Linked DNA regions of Homo sapiens: regions 1 and 2 are each linked to region 3. The links are contacts of gene promoters, found by promoter capture Hi-C in blood cells and fetal thymus (Javierre and others, 2016). All regions are on one chromosome and are shown on one strand. Each heading gives the region's core, a stretch centred on a gene start or on the middle of the fragment in contact. The rest is flanking DNA. Distances are from core to core; before and after follow the strand shown. Region 1 overlaps NAP1L4 (nucleosome assembly protein 1 like 4). Region 2 overlaps SLC67A1 (solute carrier family 67 member 1). Region 3 holds the start of MRGPRG-AS1 (MRGPRG antisense RNA 1).

What was found. The method cuts DNA at HindIII sites, captures the fragments that hold promoters and counts their contacts. A CHiCAGO score of 5 or more calls a contact.
Region 1: a fragment that was not itself captured here is called in contact with the fragment with the promoter of MRGPRG-AS1 in region 3 in 5 of 17 cell types (M2 macrophages, M0 macrophages, M1 macrophages and 2 more); the score reaches 10.2 in M2 macrophages.
Region 2: a fragment that was not itself captured here is called in contact with the fragment with the promoter of MRGPRG-AS1 in region 3 in 1 of 17 cell types (erythroblasts); the score reaches 5.2 in erythroblasts.

What each region holds. Positions count from the first base shown.
Region 1 is chr11:2,950,194-2,953,867 of GRCh38, forward strand. It overlaps NAP1L4 (nucleosome assembly protein 1 like 4), which reads right to left. Exons shown (of 16, transcript NM_005969.4): 13 at 1,587-1,616; 14 at 1,066-1,122. Among named protein-coding and RNA genes, the nearest start is that of SNORA54, 12 kb to the right of the region's middle. The HindIII fragment of the contact is 2,285 bases long and covers 860-3,144 here.
Region 2 is chr11:2,917,135-2,920,548 of GRCh38, forward strand. SLC67A1 (solute carrier family 67 member 1) reads left to right here. Exons shown (of 11, transcript NM_002555.6): 7 at 854-961; 8 at 2,173-2,273. Among named protein-coding and RNA genes, the nearest start is that of PHLDA2, 11 kb to the right of the region's middle. The HindIII fragment of the contact is 2,851 bases long and covers 740-3,414 here.
Region 3 is chr11:3,216,985-3,220,331 of GRCh38, forward strand. It overlaps MRGPRG-AS1 (MRGPRG antisense RNA 1), which reads left to right and starts at 1,348. Exons shown (of 2, transcript NR_027138.1): 1 at 1,348-1,575. MRGPRG (MAS related GPR family member G) reads right to left here and starts at 1,829. Exons shown (of 1, transcript NM_001164377.1): 1 at 960-1,829. The coding sequence starts at 1,829. The coding sequence ends at 960. RefSeq lists an enhancer at 2,925-3,347. The HindIII fragment of the contact is 7,931 bases long and covers 1-3,347 here.

The DNA of each region.
Region 1 (3,674 bases), core at 752-3,251, 270 kb before region 3:
TACGCTTTCAGCAGAGTCCTCCCACATCAACAGGCCAAACTTTAGAAGATGAACATTTCCATGAGCAGATTATTCCCAGAGTAGTCTTTATAAGACACATTCTCAAAAAAGTTTTAAAAGCTCTTCTCCCATCCCTTCCTTGAAGGAACCACAACTGTGAACATGCATTCATGGAAACAGCCAGTTTAAACCAACTGATGACAGAGCCAGAATATCACACTGACAGCTTTTAGTGCACACTCCAAAAAACAAGGGTAAAAACAAGCAAAAAACGTCTAGTCGGACAGAGACACATTACAAAAACACCAGGTAACGTTAGTATTCTGACAGCCCATAATATACTTAATTTTAAGAGGCAAGTGAACTACACATTTCATGTTTTACAAGAAGAAACTCTTATGATGCTGTAGGATGACATTTAAGCACTTCTGATTTTAAAATGTGCCAAATGGTCAAAGTACCTTGATTTAAGTTACTCTGAGACCACAAATAAAAATCTAAATTTGCAGGTAAAATTAATGGGGTTGCCCACTCATTTTCAACTCAGTTTTCTTTAGTAAACCTTTCCAATTTATTTTAAATTATCTGAGACATATGAGATATCTAGACACATCATCTGGGCATGCTCAGCTCAAGTGCAACTGGGTCAAATGATGCCCACAATCCCATTATTCTGTTCCTTAACAAAAAGAGCCCCAAAGTCCCTTCTTTGCACCTTTTCCAAACACGCACAAAGAAAAGTTTATTTATGTTGTCAGTTAAATCATTACCTTACCTTAAAAGAATGAAACACTTGGAAAGTCAAGTTGCTCTACTGAGGAGTCTATGTAAATAAGACACAGCTTGAGACAGCTGGAAAAGCTTCTACTGAGTATGTACACTCAACACTCAAATTATAGACACAGTGTCTGAATAATCATTCCACTATTTTTCTGACACATTTTAAACTTTCTAATTAGGGAATAATGAATATTGTTAACACTACTGCCTCAAAGTGGGGAACATTTTTAAAAGTCTAAGAGTGCAGCATAATAAGTAGGTCTGGGTGGCCCCAAAGTTACCAACCTTGGGGTTAATTTCCGCATCATCCTCGTCTTCTCCCTCCTCGTCACCTTCTAATTCCTGTATTTAAAAAGTGAGAATTAGCTGGAATGACAAGATTTAAACTCTTGTGGCATTCACAATCCACAAACACAAGGAGCAAAACACTGCCTTAGATGGAAATCAATTACTGCTACCCACAAGTGACTCATCACTTCCTTTGGACACTTAGAATTATTTCTAGGTATCTTTTTGTTCTCACAGAGAGCCCTGAAAGAAACAAAATTCTGAAAAAGTAGATTTTGTTAAATGATTATTTTCTAAGATACATTTTCATGAACCAACTGCAGGGTCAAAAACGATGGAAACTGTCACAGCATTTGCTATGCATTTCTGCTTAGTGTTTTAAGAACATTCTTAGAATCAAAGACAGCGTCACAAAAAATGGGTTTAACACAGCCCTGTGAGTCCATAACCTTCAAGCAGAGAAAGCCAAAGAAACAACTTCAGGGAGGTAAGTGGCACTGCATAAACCTGTCTCTTACCTCCTCTTCTCCTTCTTCACCTTCTTCAAACTGGAGAAACACAGAAAAACATTTTTAGGTTTACAAAACATGACAGCAGCCTGCCCAAGACACCAGTCCCATCAAGTGACTCACTGACCAAGCCTAAGAGGAGCAGAAAGTCCAGCCACGCTGCCTGCTGGGCCTCGCTTGCCTGAGGAGCCATTTGCTTGTGTGCAGCGCATTTTAAAAGCATGCCAGGAAATTGAAAGTCACGCAAAACAAGGAATAGGATAGGAAGCTGGTCAGCCAGGGTGTACCCTGGACACAGCTGGGAACCTGGCACCACAGCTCTGCCCTGGCTGTTCTCACACCGAGGAGCAGGCACACAGGAAAAGATTTTTGTAAACCGATGAATTTGTTTTCCTTAAATTTTCTACAAGGCTGATCGAACCAGCAGCATAATGTTATTGGATACAGGAATCTGGGTATCATTTTACATCTCATACAAAGGGAAAAGAAACCTTAGTAGAAATATATTAAAACTTTGGTGTTTAATCTTTAAAGTGATCAATAAGGTGCTCAAAGGTGAACCTCCACCATTAGTCAATTGTCTTGAATCAGTTTCTCCTACATCCAAATACATCATTGGTCAGACTAAAAATCAAGTTTCAAACATGAGACTTACACCAAAAGCAAAACCACCTTATCACTACTGGTTGCATAACAAGGGTAGTGCATGAAAATGCAGCTTCATTTATCAACATTTCCCATTTTGTTGAGCTCACACCATGTATTTGCTTAGAGCCAACTTCGGTGGAACTTAGAAGGGCCCTACTGTGCTGGTGTGGAGTTCACACAGTGTGCACAGCCTCCTGGCGCCACGCAGCAGCCAGGATGAGATGTGGCCACGGTGCAGCGCCCTTCCGCTCTAAGGACCCTAACTGGCATCAGGCAGGGAAAGGCTTCTCAATATTCTTCCATTTCACGTCAGATCCAACGAGCCTCCAGCAGGCTCCAGGGCCTATTCCAAGGCTCTAAGGACAGCATTTTGCCCTTAAGGGGCTGTGCACAGGGGCTGCTCCAGATGCATCACCCACCTGGGCAGAGCAGGAGCTGCCACGTGCAGAGAAGACAAGACCAGGGTTCCCACATTCACCTCCTCCTCCAACAACTTTCTAGTGTTGGGGTACGGTCTAGAAAGTAACATTAGTAAAACACTTTATGCCAACACTTACTGAGTCATTGCTCTGTGCCAGGTGCTATGTTAAGGGCTTAACAAGTAACCAGAGTCTTTACCATGAGCTCTACTTACAGCTGAGGAAACTGAAGCTCAAGGAGGTGGTGGAGCTACTAAAGGGAGAATGGGGATGCGAGTCTGAGCAGTCTAATCTGAGCTGGCACTTCTAGCCTCTAACTGACACTGCTCATCAGTAGTACCTGTGCTGAACGTATTGTGAATGAAACGCACATGTACTATAAGCAAATGTGGCACAGTGCTCACCAGCAGTACAGATACCGCATATAAGTAAGCAAATAGCACACATGCATATTCAAGTCCTTTAAACTGACGGGTGTATGATCAAAACAGTTTCAGATAAGCTTTCCAATGTGTAGCCACTAGCCCTTAGCTCACTATTTAAATTTAAACTAAGGTAAATGAAATGTTCAGTTCTTCAGTCTCAGCAGCCATATTTCAAGTCCTCAAGTGGTCAGTCCTACTGCACTGGACCAAGCAGGCAGAGGACAGTTCCATCAACAGAGAAAGTTCTACTGGAAAGTGCTGGTCTAGAATTTGTAAAACTATGTCTTGGCAGCTACCTGACTGTCCATGTTCCCTGACCTGCAATCACCTCCCAACCTAGGGATGAGCCAGCAAGTTGAGTTTTAGAAGTTAAATGAACAGTCTAAGACCTAACAGCTGATAAAGAGCACGCTGGCCTATTCTCCCCACTGGTGGAACTCAGTACAATGGGAGAGGTGTGAGGAGATGTTGGCCTTTACTGCCACAGGGGGCTAAGGCCCTTGAACCCACCTAAGCTCTTGCCGCCCTGTCTGAAGCCCCAACAGACCAGACCTTCTAAGAAAAGAAACCTAAGAGCTCCACAAGAAAGAGAGTATCATCTAGAA
Region 2 (3,414 bases), core at 915-3,414, 300 kb before region 3:
GGGTGCTGCCCGAGGGGCACTCATTGGTGGAGGGCAGAGGATGGTCAGGCTGGTCCCATGAGGAGAGGCCAAGGCTCCTCAGAGGGGGTCCCCTCAAGGCTGGCCCCCTGCTGAACGCAGCCCCTTTGTGCCAGGCACGTGGCAGGGCCCATGCCTCGGTGCCTAGGGACTAAGAGCCCAGCCTGGGCCAGAGGGACCCACCTGGGACCATCCTGGGGCAGGAGGCTGTCATGGAATTAACCTAGAAAGTCCAGGGGGAGGGCCGGGTGGAGATGGGCCTGTGGCGAGCACAGCAGAGCCAGAGAGGCAGGAGCCCCTGAGACAATAAGGAGGAAGGACTCGGTGAGCCGGGCTGGGGGCCTGTGGCTTCGCACTCAGAGGTGCCCGGTGGGCCAGGCCACGGCGGTGACTTGTGGCCACAGAGAGTGGTACAGTATTGCCATTGTCTTCCTCTGGGCTGGTGGCCTGGTCATGCTCTGCCCCAGGCCCCAGGCCAGGACCATATAGGAAGCAGCTATTGGTCCCTTGTTCAGGGACTGCCGCAGGCCTCCGCCACTGCATGCCCAGGTTGAGGCCAGTCTACCTGCGTGCAGAGAATGCTTTTCCTAAGTGCCTCTGGGGATTCAGGGGGCCCCTAGGAATGCGTAGAAGTGTGCTGAGGGGCGGTGCCCAACCTGGCAGCTGGGAGCATCACCAGCTCCCATTCCCACAAGTGAGCGGTGCTGAAGCCAAGGAAGGAAGCTTTACCCTGGCGGGCGCAACAGGGCCCTCCGAATGGCGAGGCCTGCAGCCGGGCGAGGGGTGGGCATTGGGACAATGGCCTTTGCAGGCCTGAATGGCCTCTCCGTGCCAGGCGGCCCCCGGGCCAGTGTGTTCGACCTGAAGGCCATCGCCTCCCTGCTGCGGCTGCCAGACGTCCCGAGGATCTTCCTGGTGAAGGTGGCCTCCAACTGCCCCACAGGTGAGTCCCAACTACTGCCCCAACAGCGGCCAGAGCCTGGCAGAGTCCCAGCTGCGGCCAGGGCCCGGCCCTTCCTCTGGCCTGTGCCCCACAGGTCCACACAGATGTGGTAGAGCAGGCAGGAGCGGGAGGAAGGCAGAAAAGTGTCTTTCCCACCTCCTTCCAGCCCCTCTACACTGCACACCTGCAGATCCCAGGGTGGGCCCCCACGGGCAGAGGGCCTGGCTCGCAGCCATGCATCCCTGTGTGCTCCTCAGCTCTTACCCTCATACCCTGTGGCCCCACGTCCTCTCCAGACAGCCTGAGATGCAGGGACAGCAGGTCTGAGTGTCACCACTGCCTTCTGCAGCATGCTGGCCCTGGGCCCTCTCAGCAGACCGTAGGGCGTCACGGACCACAGATAGGATAGCGAGCCACGGACAAGCCCACGAGCAGCCCTGTCCCTCAGAAGCCCCGCCTGGACTCCTCTAACTGAGAAGCCAGGAAGCAGGATGGAGAATAGGCCCTCAGCACTCCAACTGGCACCGGCCCCTGTCCCACCCAGCCCACCTAGGCCAGCTCTGTTGGTTCTCAAAACTGGAACCCAAGTTACTAACCTCAGTAACAGGCCCTTTGAGGGCCCTTTTTTTTTTGAGACCACTGACCAGGCTGGAGTGCAGTGGTATGATCTCAGCTCACTGTAGGCCCCACCTCCCAGGCTCAAGCAATCCTCCTGTCTCAGCCTCCCGAGCAGCTGGGACTACAGGCATGGGCCACCACGCTCAGCTAATTTAAGTGTTTGTAGAGACAGGGTCTCACTATCTTTTCCAGGCTGGTCTCAAACTCCTGGCCTCAATCAGTCCTCCCTCTTCGGCCTCCCAAAGTGCTGGGATTGCAGACGTGACTTTGAGGGCTCTTATAACAGAGAGCCGTGGTGGGTCTTGGGGGCCAAATCCTCCCACGTGGTCAGCCCTGGGTCCCTCCCTTCCAGCACCTTCCTGCTCACAGTCCAGAGCTTAGCAACCACACGAGAGGCACTTTCCACACCAGGGATACGGCAGAATCCCAGGGAAGGGTCTCATTGGCCCGGCTGGCATCACAGGCCCCTCCCTGAACCAGTCACCAGCCAGGGCCCAGACACCCTGATTGGCCAGGCTGCTGAGGCGGGAGGGAGGTGGGCGCCAAGGTCGGGGTGTGGGGGTACTCACCCCTGTTCCCCTGCCCCGGCTCAGGGCTCTTCATGGTCATGTTCTCCATCATCTCCATGGACTTCTTCCAGCTGGAGGCCGCCCAAGCTGGCTACCTCATGTCCTTCTTCGGGCTCCTCCAGATGGTGAGTGGGCACACAGGGCCTGCTGGGGGGCACGGCAGGGGTCTCCAGTGGGGCAGGCCTCTGAGAGTAGAGGCTCCTCCCCGGCGGAGGCTGGGGAGCCCTTGGCCTCCCATCTGGCACATGTCAGGGTCCACAGGGAACCAGGCATACAGGCCAGGGAGGGAGAGCCAACTGCAGTGGTGGGCACGCTGTGAGGACAGTGGACTCCGGCCTCTGATGGGCAGCTGGCTGGGATCTGTGGCAGCCCACCTGCCCACCAGCTGTGTGACCAGAGCAAGTCTCCCAAACTCTCCAAATCTGTCCCATGAGGCCAAAGTGCCCGCCTTGCAGGGTCCTTGGCAGATGAGATGACCTAACGTGGCAAAGTGGTTAGACCAGCGTGGGCCCCTTTGGAGGTCCCATAGGAGCAAGACGCCAGCCCTCAGAGGCCACGCTGTCATGGTAGGATAAGACGCCAGCCCTCAGAGGCCACACTGTCATGGAAGGATGCCCTGAAACCCTGGCAGCTCCGATGCGGCAGGTGTCTGTCTGCCAGCCCCCCAGAACCGCTCAGCTCCCGGGCCGGGGCGAGACACCTCCACCACCAGCTCCTCTGGGCTTCTGGACCAGACCCTGGGTGGTGGGGACAGGTGATGATTTGCCACCACCCAGGATGGCTGCCTGACAGCCAGAGTGCGGGGCGGGGGGGCTATTCTGGGACCCGCCAGGGTGGGGGTGGGGGCTCTCGGCCTCTCCGGAAGCCTGTGGCATTCCTGGCACCTCCAAGCCATCTGCTCTTCAGCCTCTGGGCCCAGGACTAGACTAGTGCTAAAATAGCTGCTCCTGGGAGGGGCTGGACCCCCACCGTGGGCAGAGAGGGCCTCTGCTTTTTGGGGCAGGAGGGGCCACCCTGGCAGGGTAAAAAGAGATAAACAGAAAAACAACAGCAACAATAATAGTAACAATCCGGGGTTGTTGCCATGGGGCCTGTTCTGAACAGGCTGCGCCCAGCTCACTGCGAGGAAGGACGCTTAGCCAGGCCCTGGCTGAAGCCTGCAGCTGGGCTGGACACAGCAGTCATTGGCCTGTGTTGTGGGGGACTTGGGCCTGCCATGGCTGCAGTGGGGACCCTGCCTGAGACAGACAGAGCTGGGGTGGTGAC
Region 3 (3,347 bases), core at 98-2,597:
TTCTTTTTCCTTCCTTCCTTCTTTCCTTCTTTTCTTTTCTCTCTCTCTCTTTCTCTCTCTCTCTGTCTCTCTCTCTCTCTCTGTCTCTCTCTCTCTCTCTCCAAAGCAAACACTTGGGGCAAAAGCTCCAGATGATCCAGGGCTGAGGAGGGAGGGTGAGAGCAGAGGTGGGAGACGGGAGCAACCCGCAGAGAGCGGATGGCCCTGGGGACGCAGGAGAGGCCGGGTGGGGACCAGTGTGGGAGGGGATGGGAGGGGACCGAGGGGATGGAGGCTCCTGCATCCGCCGGCCCACGGGGCTGGGTCTGTTCTGTGCAGAAGCAGCACCACCTGGTGGCCTCTGCTGGTGACATCAGGCACCTGCCAGTCCTGGGCCTCAGAGAGGGGGACAGAGCCCTGGGTGTGGTCCCCGCGGGGTGGGCAGGACAATGATGGCTGAGCAGGGCGGGGAGTAAGGAGTAGTTCCACCTCAACTCTGTAGGGGGCGAATCAGAGCCTCAGCCAGCAGGTGGCATGGACGGCGCCCACCTAGCCCAGGAGTCCGGAAGCCTGGGTTCCAATCCGGCCACTGTGGGCTGGTGGCTGGCTCTGTTTTATTGTGCAGTTTTCTCCCCTGTGACTCAGGTGCAGCAGGGTGGGGAGGGGCCGGGTAAGGGGATCTGGGCTGGGCCTGGGGGCGTGGTGCCTGTCCTCACCCCTATTCAGGAGGCTTCTCCTTTCTCTCTCCTTGCCTGACCTCTCTCCAGCTCCATTTTCTGCCTCCCTCATCCTCAGCAGGCCTGGCTGGGGGGTGGTCAGGGCCAAGTCTCTCCAGCTGTGTCCAGCCCTTGGGTGCTCAGGGTAAGAGCTAGGTGGTGGGCGGGGCTCCTCCTGGTCCTGAAAGCATCTGGGTGTGGGGTGAGCGAGGGTCGGTGGGGGTGGGCACCTCCTGGCAGGCCCTGTGGGCGGGGCAAGCCCACTTATAGGAGACCCATGGGCAGGGACTGTCCCCTGGCACCCAGCTCGGCGCCCTCCCCCAGGGCCCTCCGCAGTACCGACCTCAGCGGCTCCCGCTTCCCGGGCTGTCGGCCCAACCCCGAGTAGATGAGGGGCTTGGAGCTGCTGTTGACGCAGGCCAGCAGCGTGGCCAGCGGGGAAAACACGGGCAGCAGGAAGTTCAGCAGGGGCTGCAGGCTCCAGTAGAAGACCGAGGGCAGGCCACAGAAGAAGAGCAGGAGCAGCGCGCCCAGGACGATGCCGTAGAGCCTGGGCCGCGGGCGAGTGGAGCAGCAGGTCACCCAGACAAAGAGGACCACGCCAGCCGTCCAGGCGACGCGGGCCAGCACCAGGAACCAGGTGACGCTGGCCACGTGGTAGCGCGGGCAGACCAGGGGGCACGCGCTGTTGCGCAGCAGGCCGCAGGCGTTGGCGGGCAGCGGCACGGCCGGCAGGGTCGGGGTCCACACCAGGGCGCAGAGGACGGCCGAGGCGTGTCTGGGCCGGCAGCCCTGGTAGCAGGCGGGGAAGAGGTCGGAGAGGCAGCGCTCCACGCTGAAGGCCGCCAGCAGCCAGAGCCCCACCGCGAACCACAGGAAGGTGAGCACGAAGTAGAGTGTGTCCTGGGCGCCCAGGGCAGCCTGAGCCACGGAGAAGCCCACACGGCAGGAGAGGAACAGGAAGTCGGCGGCGGCCAGGTGCAGCAGGTAGATGGAGAAGGGGCCCTTCTTGATGCGGAAGCCGAGGTTCCAGAGCACCAGCCCGTTACCTACCGGTCCCCCGAGGCCCACGATCAGCGTCAGGTAGAAGACCACACTGTCGAAGGTTCTCCAGAGGCCGAACAGCCCAAACATCCTGGCCGGCTCAGAGGGTGCTGGCGAGGGACCTGCAAGATGGAGACAGACATGGTCCTCAGGAGTCTTTTGTGCCCCCGCTGGGGGCACAGGGAGTGGCATCCATGGCCCTGCAGGTGCCCTCTGGGTGCAGCCCCTGGACCACCCTTCCCAGCGGCGGGACCTCAGCCGGGTCTCAGCCCTCTGCACCTCAGGTCAGGCGTGCCTAATGCCTCCCCATACCTGAGGGCAGGCCCTGGGCTCCTGGCAGGGTGGACTAACTTGCTGAAAAGATGTCCATGTCCCTCATGGATGTGGTGAGGGTGATGCTGCACCCTCCACCGTGTGCCAGACAAGGGTCTGCAGACAGAGGGAACGTGCATGGGGAACCCACGTGTGGCGCCTTCCTCTTCCCCCAGAGGTGGGAGCTTCTCCACGGTGGACCCTCATGGGGCTCCCACCTGGTGAGCCTAGACCAGCCTGCTGGCGAAGTCCCCTCCCCGGAGGGTCTCTGGAGGTGTCCAGGGAGGTGCCCAAAGGCAGAGGCTGCAGGTGGTCTGAGGAGGAGGGAGGAGGGAAGATGCGGTGTGAGGAGCTGGAGGGAGCCCCCAGCCTTCCCTGTGCACTCCTGGCCTAAGCAGAAGCTGAATCCCGGGGCTCATGCTGCCGGCGGTGCACTCAGGAGGCTGCTCTGAAGCCTCAAGCCAAGAGAGGGGCTTTGGTGATGGTGGCAGGGCCAGGGGGCCTCTCCAGGAGCCACTAACACAAGGGGAGGGGCAGATACAAGTGGCCACTTGCAAGGAGCGAGGCTGAGAGTCCCGAGGATGTTCTCAGAGTGCGAGAGAGATTGGCCACCGGAAGCTGCGCTGAAAGGCAGAGGGTCTCAGAGCAGCCCTTCCCTTTCCAGCCATCCCTCCTCCCCCAGGATCCACATGGGTCATGTTCTTAGTCCTGGGAGATGCATCAGGACCAGGCTCAGCAGTGGCGGCGTCAGCGGTGAGAGACACGGGAGAGAGAAGAGAGATAGAGAGAGACAGAGAGACAGGGAGAGACAGAGATGTAGACAGACATTGAGAGACAGAGACAGAGAGACAGAGACAGAGAGCTACAGAGAGATAGAGACAGAGATAGACACAGAGAAACAGAGATGAGACAGACTGTGTGTGTGTGAGAGAGAGAGAGACAGACAGAGAGAGAGCCATCAAGCCGCCAACACACACCTGGAGCCCTCCCTGTCACATCTTTGCCTGGGCTGTGTCCCCTGCCCAGACAGCCCTGAATACCTCTCCCCTGACCCAGGTCCCACCCTACTTCAAGGTTTTGCTCCTTCTCAGGGGCCTGCAACCCCCTGCAGCTTCCTCCGACCCCCGTGAGCCCCCTGCCTCATGGCTGAGCATCCCCCGGCACCTTCTTTGTGCTTGTCATTGCCCCTAGTCAGGGGTTGGGGAGTGCGGCTCGGGCCTTGGCTCCTGTGCCTTGCCATGGCCGGGCACACGGTGATGGTGGCCTGTCCTCCGAGCCCAACCAGGGGCAGTGGGA